2 separate regions of the Homo sapiens genome follow, and region 2 is linked to region 1. Evidence: promoter capture Hi-C in 16 types of primary human blood cells and fetal thymus (Javierre and others, 2016). All regions are on one chromosome and are shown on one strand. Each heading gives the region's core, a stretch centred on a gene start or on the middle of the fragment in contact. The rest is flanking DNA. Distances are from core to core; before and after follow the strand shown.

Evidence for each region. Contacts are between HindIII fragments. The CHiCAGO score rates a contact against its expected background, and 5 or more counts as called.
Region 2: a fragment that was not itself captured here is called in contact with the fragment with the promoter of DHX29 in region 1 in 1 of 17 cell types (fetal thymus); the score reaches 9.9 in fetal thymus.

What each region holds. Positions count from the first base shown.
Region 1 is chr5:55,306,346-55,311,462 of GRCh38, forward strand. It overlaps DHX29 (DExH-box helicase 29), which reads right to left and starts at 1,349. Exons shown (of 27, transcript NM_019030.4): 1 at 1,042-1,349. The coding sequence starts at 1,228. It overlaps MTREX (Mtr4 exosome RNA helicase), which reads left to right and starts at 1,644. Exons shown (of 27, transcript NM_015360.5): 1 at 1,644-1,802. The coding sequence starts at 1,669. LOC124900979 (a long non-coding RNA gene) reads right to left here. Exons shown (of 2, transcript XR_007058774.1): 2 at 1,804-2,092. RefSeq lists enhancers at 1,018-1,277, 1,418-1,897. The HindIII fragment of the contact is 7,705 bases long and covers 1-3,599 here.
Region 2 is chr5:56,820,356-56,825,383 of GRCh38, forward strand. All of the region lies in intron 1 of MAP3K1 (mitogen-activated protein kinase kinase kinase 1), which reads left to right. Among named protein-coding and RNA genes, the nearest start is that of MAP3K1, 7.3 kb to the left of the region's middle. RefSeq lists a silencer at 87-381 and an enhancer at 5,009-5,028. The HindIII fragment of the contact is 1,877 bases long and covers 1,172-3,048 here.

The sequences.
Region 1 (5,117 bases), core at 99-2,598:
AATTTCTGCCATGCTTCACAGAGTTAACTCCTTTTTCATTCTCCTCATCTCAGCTTAACTGTTACATTTCCAGACACCATCCATGATACCTGCTCATCCCGAGAAAAATTAGATTACCCTGTTAAACTGTCTTCCCTGGCTTTTCTTTGTGGCACTTATCTATTATAAGGCTATAAATATGTCTGTGTGCGTTACCTATTAGTTAATACCTATCTCTGACATTAGACTGGCAAGCTCCATGAGGTGATGTCTCTTTTTGCTCATCACATTCCTCACATCTTATCAGACACATACTAAATATTTGCATATATACACATAAATGCTCAGCAAATATTTCTTGAATACTCCAATAAGTACAAGCAAACAACCCGAGAAGAACACAACAGAATGTAATTGTTCATCTTTTGAGCTCAACCGTAATATGTGGCCTGCTCATCTGCAGCAGGAATCGGCCATCTATAAGTTGAGTTGTCAAATCAATTTGTACAGTAAGCAAAACTGCATGGCGGCAGAAACGAGGGCAGACAATTTTACAATAGATTACACGTAACCAGTGTGTAACCAGTGTGTAAGTCCTGTAATTTTTATTAAGTATTGATTTTTCCAGAACGCATGGAGACACTAGATTGTTGCTGAAAATGATATGAAAAACTGACAGAAAATGGGGCTGGCTGGCACCAGGAGGTCAGGAACTCCACTCAGTACTCGTCTTTGCGTTAGCCTAGCTAGCTGAGATGGTGCTCAGGATGAATTCCTGCTGAAACAGGAGCTAATGCAATTATTTTGTTTTTAGAAGGGGGAGAAGTGTGAGTTAAAAGAGAAATGCCAGGCTGCAACAGGGCTACTGTCAGAATTTTGGAGGCCCAAAGAGCTTAGACTTTTTTAATCTAAAACAAGGCCACCCCATGGGGAGGTAGCAGCTCGAGTGTTGGGAAATAGAAATGTTGGGCCCGAAGCTCCTCCCGGGTTCTAAGGCCCTTTCCTCAGGACAAGCAGCAAGGTCTCAGGGCAGACAGCCAGGGGCTGGGGGACCTCTCGTACCTTGCTTGACACGGGGCTCCCTGGAGCCGGCAGCGGCAGCGGCAGCGGTGGCCGGCCTGGACACTGGCTTCTTGCTTTGGGCCTCCCCGGCAATTCCAGCCTCGGCAGATTTGGCTCTGGAAGCAGACACGGCGGCCCGGACCACCGCGGCCGCTGGAGCCTTGTGTTTCTTGTTCTTGCCGCCCATGTTGCAGCTGTGGCAGAAGATCCTTCGCGGCCCAGGCCCCGACGGTACCACTGCACAGCCGAGAGCTCTTCACATTCCCCGGCTCCGGGGCTGCCACCCTGCGCTTCGATCCGGGCTTCTCGGGCCGGGGCGACCGCTGCCTCGCAATTGGTCGAATTCAGCAGGCTCCGCCTCCTTGAGTCGCCAGCTGCCTGCCACACGCCAGGCGCCACGCGCCGCCCTCGCTCTTTATCCACTGAGCAGCTTATCCACTTTAGGTCGGAAAGGAAAGGAAAGAAAAGCAGGAAAAAAAAAAAAAGTCAGGGGAACATTTTTGTCGGCTGCGCGACTCGACTACTTTTGTCTCCTGCGGGCCACTGTTGAGCCTTCACGAGACGTCACTGTCTTCGGTCGCGGGGCATCGTGGGTAGGAGGGAGATTTGCTCTCACTGCTCCCAAAAATGGCGGACGCATTCGGAGATGAGCTGTTCAGCGTGTTCGAGGGCGACTCGACCACTGCGGCGGGAACCAAAAAAGACAAGGAAAAGGACAAGGGGAAATGGAAGGGGCCTCCAGGGTCTGCAGACAAGGCAGGGTAAGGAAGAAGTTCCAGTTGTTGCTTTTATTTTTTTTCTCGGTGGGGAGGAAGAAAACACTACTCTCTTAGGAAGAGCACGAGAAAGTGAAGTGTACATTGAGTGGCGTTGGAAGTGAAGGGGTTCCAGAAAAAAGTTGGAGAGGGTGGAAGAATGTTGGTTCGTGGAAGGGGGGTCTTGGCGTTTCCTGGTGTCTGCAGGCAGCGTGATCTTCTGCTTCAATTCCCTTACGTCGATGTTACTGATTCTGTCCCCATCTTCGCGGTTGTCTCCTGCATCAGCACAACACCTGGCACATAGTCGTTAATAAACAAAACGAATGATTAGTTGAGTAAAAGGTGAAAAGGTTTAGAAAAAATGATATGAATTGATTTGGAGGGGAAAGGGCAGATAATAACATGAGAAGGGAGAGACATTTAATCTCCAAGATGTAGTAGTTTTCTCTTCCGTAAAATGGAGATAATAGTGCCTACCACTGGTGGATATGAGGATTCAATGAGATACACGTGTAAAGTGCCTAACAGTGGTTAGCTAGCTATCACTAATAAATGGTAGCTATCGTGAGTTTATTGAGAAAAAATTTAAAAATTACTGGACCCTACCCATATGTTTAGACTGGTGCATACAGCCACCAGAAAGTGTACAGATCTGTTTATAGTAGAACAAGGAAAAGCTATTACTTGTATTAAATAAAGTAAGATGATTAATTAACAATCAACAAAATATACTCTTGGCATTGTGGGGCCAGATACCCAATAGATGCTTGAAATTAAATTAGACATGATTTTGCTCTCAAGGAATTTTCGGTGTAGGGAAAGAGAACAGGTACCCATTAAAGAGTTACAGTATAGGTGAGGAGGTCGTTAACTTAAAATGAATGATATATACAATTAAGTGTTATAAAAGTTCAAGAAAGGGAGATCCTATTTCTGACTTTCAGGAAGGCTTATTTATATACAAGAGAATATTCTGAGTTAAGGAAATTGTGTTGTTAATGGTGCCAAGTTTGTTTGTTTTTAGGAGCATAAATTGAGCAAGAGGAACTGTTTCATTTAGGGACTACAAGAGATAAGACTGGGAATATACATTGATTTGAGAACATGAGGGGCCTTGAATATCAAGCAGAGGAGTTTTGATTTCATTTTTAAAACCCTGTTGAACAAGGTGATTGGATAAGTAGAATGATAGTTTAGGAAAATTAATTTGGCAGTGGTTGGCAGAGTACTATAATAGTATAGGGAAAGAAGATAGACAGTGAGAAAGTAAATTAGGAAATTATGTTAGTTATCTGGTTGTAAAGATGAAAAGAACCTCAACTCAGGCAGTGGCAGAGGAATGGAAAGGTACGAACATGTTAAGGAAAAAATGGACAGGCCTTCATTAATTAAGGAAAACAAGGGAAAGGAAGTCAAAAGAGATGTTTAATTTGCATGTCAGGGTGAAAAAAACAGGGACGTTCAGAGGTTTTGATATAGTGATAACATTAATTTGGCTTGAGACAATGTGAAGGGATGCTAGTATGTCTGTAGGAAAATGTCCACTGGGTAGTTTTAATAGGGTTTTGGAGAGAGACCAGGACTGGAGGTATATATTTGAATATCATTTGAATTGGTCTCCTTGAGATAGAGATCTCTGTGGGGAAGTAAGTGACACAACACAGAACTTCTGGAGAGGGTACATAAGCCTAAATAAGAGATTAGAGGGATAAGAGAAAATTCTATCAGGAGTGCGAAATGAGTGGAACAAAGTGGAAAAATAGTCTACTCGCATTAAGTTGGATTGGGAGAGTTTGGGGAAGCTTTTCAGAGAAAATAAGAAAGGAGGACCAATTATTTTTATTTCTTTCAAGACAGGAAGTAATAGTTGCTAGAGTGTTTGAATGGGCAACTATGATATTATGAAGACAATACATGTATAATTTACCATGTTAGTATATACTTTACCTCAAATTTGCTAGGATAAAATGAGTTTTATTTGCAGGTTAGTTGGGGTAAGCTGTTTGACAGCCTTCCAAAGTGAAAAGAGGAAATAAAAATCTAATTTACATTTCATTATATTAGGAAATGAATATTAGAGAAAGGAAATAAGAAAACACAGGAGAACGTTAGTAGCTTAAAGGGTTTTGTTTACTACCAACACTTCTAGCAAGGTCTTCTAGATATTTTTAAGAAAAAAATCCTGGCCGGGCGTGGTGGCTCACGCCTCTAATCCCACTTTGGGAGGCGGAGGCTGGCAGATCACCTGAGGTCAAGAGTTCGAGACCAGCTTCACCAACATGGCGAAACCCCATCTCTACTAAAAATACAAAATTTAGCCATGCCTGGTGGCAGGCGCCTGTAATCCCAGCTAGTTGGGAGGCTGAGACAAGAGAATGGCTTGAACCTGGGAGGTGGAGGTTGCAGTGAGCCGAGACTGTGCCACTGCACTCCAGCCTGGGCGACAGAGCTTGACTCCATCTCAAAAAAAAAAAGAGAAAAAATCCTATTTGCCTGATTGCAGTGGCCATACTAACATTATGCATAGTGTGATTCTCATCTGATCTGTGTAACATAGGAGGGCAAATCATGGAACTTCAGAGGAACTTGCCCTTTATTTAGTATTCTAGATCAAGTGGATGCTTTTTAAAAAAATAGTTTCTTTACCTTTTAGAGATGGGGTCTCATTTTCTCACCCAGGCTGGAGTGCACTGGTGCTTAGCAGCTTATGGTAACCTCGAACTCCTGGCCTCAAGCATTCCTCCCACCTCAGCCTCCTGAATAGCTAGAAGTACAGGTACACACCACCATATCGGGCTAATTTTAAAAATGTTTTGTAGAGACGGGTGTCTCATAGTATGTTGCCCAGGCTGGTTTCAAACTCCTGGCCTCAAGCAGTCCTCCCACCTTGGCCTCTGAAAGTGTTGGGATTCCAGATGTGAGCCACTGTGCACAGCCAGTGAGTACTTTTTAAAAAAACTTTATGAGAATTGTCAAACTATGTATTTTATATATAAAACAGTATGAAGAGCTTCATGTACTCATAACTCAGCTTCACCAATATCAAGTCATGATCAGTCTATTCCTACATCTTTTTTTTTTAATCAAATGCAAGTTGTTTTTTCTCCCTAAATATTTCAGTATTTATGTCATCCAACAAAACTAACAATAATTCCTTAATATCGTTAAATACTGAATCTGCAGTGAGATGTCCCCAGTTGTCTCGGATGTTTTTTGATCATTGGTAGTTGAATCAGGATTCAAACAAAACCCTACACTGTTTTTATTGTTATGTCCCTTAAGTATTTTATGCTACAACAGCCTCCCTCTTTTTTCTTT
Region 2 (5,028 bases), core at 860-3,359, 1.5 Mb after region 1:
CTTTTTTCAAATTAATAATCAAATTAATTGATTATTTTTAAGGAGAAATTTGTTTTGCAGGCATTCTAATAGACCATGAGCTAGGTCTCTACCCTGTGCTAAGTTTGCCTGTTAATGTATATAATAGGTATGTTTCTGTAACCTGGCCTTGTATATGTAATACAAGTAAACTGTATTTGGATCACCCTATCATGTCAGCCAAAGAGGGTTAGTCATTAGTGTTGAATGTTTCTTAGATTTATTGATTTGTGCTGTATTAAATCATAAGTGAAAGGAGATAAGCTGAAATTAATATGGTTCATTCATGGTAATCACACAGGAAGAGAAACTTTTACTATTGCTAGACCCTACCCCTTTGTTATTGTTTTAGATTTCATCCATTCAACATTTATGAACTTCTGCAAGGTGGTGGTCTTGAGTGGTGGAGAAAAAGATCATGAGTGCACAAGCTGTTTCTGTCGGTAGGTTGTAGTATGAACATGTTTCACAATACCGTGTTAAGTGCTATAAGAGAGATGGGGATACAGAGGGGATACAACATATTAGTTTCAAACTATTTCTGCCTATTTTCTGATAAGAATATATACAACACTGCATGTTCAGGCATGTTTTTTTTTCTTCCAAGGGAAAATTAAAAAGGAGATACGGGGAGCAAGAAATTCAACATCTGCTACTGCTAGTTCTGAAATTCTGTCTTTATTATTAGTAACAGCAACTCTACTAGTTACGAAAACAACATGGAGAAATATAAAATATTCTTTAGGGCATAAGATGATCAAGAAGATAGCCTTGTCTTTATTTACTCTATGGCATGTCATTGGTGATTGAGTTATGTTTGGTATGGAAGGGAGTTCTGTATTGTTAGTGATTGAGTCCTTTGGAATACCAGGCTGGTTTGATGCAGATGTTAATTTGATCGAGATGTGGAGATGTTGTAGCATACTAAGGGGAATTGTTAAAACTCACCAAGTGTATAATTCTGCAAGTACACATCTGTCACCTGGGAATTACTAAGCCACCAGACCTCTTGAAGCCTGGAGAAAGTGCTTGGAGCCACATGGGACAGCCTACACAGTACTGTAGTTAGTACGTTAACTAAGTTCATCACTTGTAAGCATAATGATGGATAGACATGGAGTGAGAACAGGGTCAGTACTGGGGTGTAGGTGGAAGCTTTGCTCTTGACAGATGTTATCATTACTTTTCTTTTTTTATTTTTAAATTAGAAATGGGTTCTCACTATGTTGCCCAGGCTGGAATCGAACTCCTGGGCTCAGGTGATCTTTCCACATAGCTGGAACTATGGGTGCAAGCCACTGTGTCTGGCTTTACTTTTCTTCATTGCCTAAACAATAATTTAAGTTATATGTTAACACATAATCTTCAAACTGGTCTTATGGTATTCTGAATACTAAACATCAGTTGTTAACAGACCAGGAACTTTATCTGATTCTTTGCACCATCTCCCAGCATCTAGACTAGTGTCTGGCACCCATGAATATTAGGTACCCAGAAATGTTAACATGAATTAATTTTCCAAAAGTGGTTAAATTAGTATATCTGAAGATTAACTTACTGTAGTGAGATTTTAATCATGATCTAGCTTAAGACGAGTTTTGAAGGCAAGAACTGTCTTTTTTTAGGAGTTTTTGTATATCGTTTGGTATTTATTTATTTATTTTTGAGACGGAGTCTTGCTCTGTTGCCCAGGCTGGAGTGCAGTGGCGCAATCTTTGCTCACTGCAGCCTCTGCCTCCTAGGTTCAAGCAATTCTCCTGCCTAGCCTCCCGAGTAGCTTGCTGGGATTACAGGCATGCCCCACTATGCCCAGTTAATTTTTGTATTTTTTTGTAGAGACAGGGTTTCACCATGTTGGCCAGGCTGGTCTTGAACTCCTGACCTCAAGTGATCCACCCACCTTGGCCTCCCAAAGTGCTGGGATTACAGAAATGAGCCACTGCGGCCAGACCATTGCTTGATGTTTAATAGCAGTAGTTGGCATTTAGCAAGCAGTCATTGATAATATTGACCAATTTTATGTAATGTGAGCCTTCTAATAATTAGTGTAGTTACAAAATAATTGGAGCCATGCTCAAACTGTCAAATATTGAGAAAACTGAATTCCTGGTATTTGAAAGTGTCTAATTATTTGCGTTAATTGGTAAGCCCCTCCTGATTTTCTACTTAACCATGACACTTCTTCCGTGGCGCCCATCTTCATTCTCTTGAACATTGATACTGGAAGATTCCCAGGGTGGTCCTAGGCCTTCTCTCATTCTGTCTTGTCGATCCCCACCCCAGTCTTATTAATGCCCTTAGATCAGTTATGGACCATTTACAAATGATTGCAGAGTTTATTGTCCTAACCATGATCTCTCCTAAAGTCCAGACCTACACCTGGCTACATGACTTCTGCGCAGTCAGATGTCTAAAACCAAATTAAAGATCTTCCCTAAACCTTCTCCTAACATGTTCCCTGCTCATTAAATGGCAGAACCAGAACCCAGGAGTCACCCTTGACACCTCCTCCTCTCACCTCGTCAGATTCAGACCATCCTTAGGTGCTGGCAGTTTGACCTGTTATCACACCCCTAGCCAGGTGCCCATTGTCTCTCATTTCCACTAACTTAGTGGCCTCCTTGCCTGATCCCTGTGTCCTTTCTCCTTTGCTGTCCGTTCCAATCTGTATTAGGTGGCCAGAGTGATCATTTCCAAATGTAAATCTGATCATAACTTCCTCCCTCCAGAAAAGTAAATGTAATTTAATTTTAAGATGTTCAGATGGCTTCCATTTGGATAAAGACCAGGAAATCTTTAACATGCCTGACCGAGTCCCTGCCCGGTTGGGCCCCTGTCTGCTTCTCCAGGCCCATCTCAGCTCACACTTGCCCTTGTTCCGTGGCAGGGTTGCGTGCTTTCATTTCCTCAGACTCACTCACTGCCTTCTTCTATAGGGCCCTCACATGCTCCCTCTGCCAGGAACACTGTTTTTCCATAAAGTCAGCTCCTCGTTGTTAAAATCTTAACTCATTGACACTTCCTCAGGGAAGCTTTCCCTCATCCACCCAGACTGGCTTTGTAGCAGGGTGTCCCTACTGTCAGTGTTGTGCTTTTACATTTGTTACCTCATTTGATGAATGACTGCCTTCCCCCTAGCACCTAGCAGGATGCCTGGCATAGGGTAGACACTGCATAAATATTTATTGAATAAATGAATGAGAGGGATAATGGCATGGCATGTTCAAATTAGTGGATCCACTGTTTTTCCTGTTTAGTCAGACGTAGTTTAGGACATAGCTGAAAAGGTGTTAAATGGCAAAAGTCTAGACTATGGTGTTTCAACACTGTAGATTTGTGATAGACTCATTCAGAGGTACCTGGACTTGTAGACGTGCCTGGTGGCTCGAGTGAAATAGGACAGCTTAATGTAGTAGAGAGCAAATAGCTATACTGCATGACAACTTTATAGGTAAGAAGAGTCTGCTATGTGTATATAATTATTCTGTACTTAATAGGGAGTTAAGAGTGCGTGTGTGTATATATATGCATTTATATATTCACACATACATCTGTGAATAAATATACACATAAAGGTGTCATGCATTAATATAATTATTCTTATTTTTAAAGTTCTCAGAATGTCATCTAAACTTAAGATATCATTTTTAGAATTCTTATCTGATAACCCTACTTCATCCAAAATTCATTAATTTGATCATAATTCAACTTGGGATAAATAAAAGTTCACATTTCCATTGAAGAAAATATTTGTTAGGCAAGTACTCCATGAGATTGCAGAAGCCAAGAACCCATGTAACAAAACATTTCAAAGTTTACTGTTGGTAAGTAAACCCAGCAGCCTCTCTTATCTAGAACATGGGTTAGCACTAAGAAGTAAGAAAAAATACTCTAAGCAGCCAAAGGACCTGTAACAAAATATGTGCTTTGAAGCACTTTGATTTTACACTTAGTAGAGTTCCCAGGGCATTTGCTCAGGATTGATACTTATTTCAGATGTTGTTCATGCAGTGTTGTTCATGTGGTGTTCCTAACATGCAGCAATTAGAAGCAGCCAGTTAGAAGGGGTGGCGGTGTGAGTCCTGCAAGAGGCAGGTTCCCCAAAGGCAGCAGTGTTGGCACACCTGACAGTGAGAGGAGAGAGGGAGAATAGGACTCAAAACATTGCAGTCGGGGGCCACCTAGCATTGGTACAATTAGTTCCATCTAGGGCAGCCTCTGCCATTTAAAAATATACTCAGTGAAGTGAAGTTGGAAAGCTTGTAATATAGATTAAGGAAAATTACTATCCAAGATAGTTATAGAAAGTGTCTTGATCTTTGAAGTGGTAAACCTCTAACTGTTCTGTAAGATGTATTTCTGTAGCCTTGATGATACTGAATAAATATGTACTTTAGAATTACATAAAAATGGATGCTGCTTACCGAATGTCTTATCTATTATCTGTGTGGAGAAATCTTTTTTGTTATTGTTGACCTGAGTCATTTTATACCTTGCAGTTTCTTTAAAATGCATAATAATCACCACTACCACTAATATACTGATCTTTTCCGGTTTTTTAAAAAAAATTTTTATTTTTTTTTTTGAGACGGAGTCTTAAAGATATTTTTCTTGCTCCAAGGGTCTAGATTCTTCTTTTTTTGTTGTTGTTGAGATGGAGTTTCGCTCTTGTTGCCCAGGCTGGAGTGCAATGGCACAATCTTGGTTCACCACAACCTCCGCCTCCCAGGTTCAGGCAATTCTCCTGCCTCAGCCTCTTGAGTAGCTGGGATTACAGGCGCCTGCCACCACTTCCAACTTTTTAAATTTTTGTATTTTTAGTAGAGACAGGGTTTCACCATGTTGGCCAGGCTGGTCTTGAACTCCTGACCTCAGGTAATCCACCCGCCTCAGCTTCCCAAAGTGCTGAGATTACAGGTGTGAGCCACCATGCCCGGCCAGGTCTAGATTCTTAAATAACCAAATTTCAAGTTTTGTACAAAGATTGAAGGAAAGCTAGTCTTTAACCAG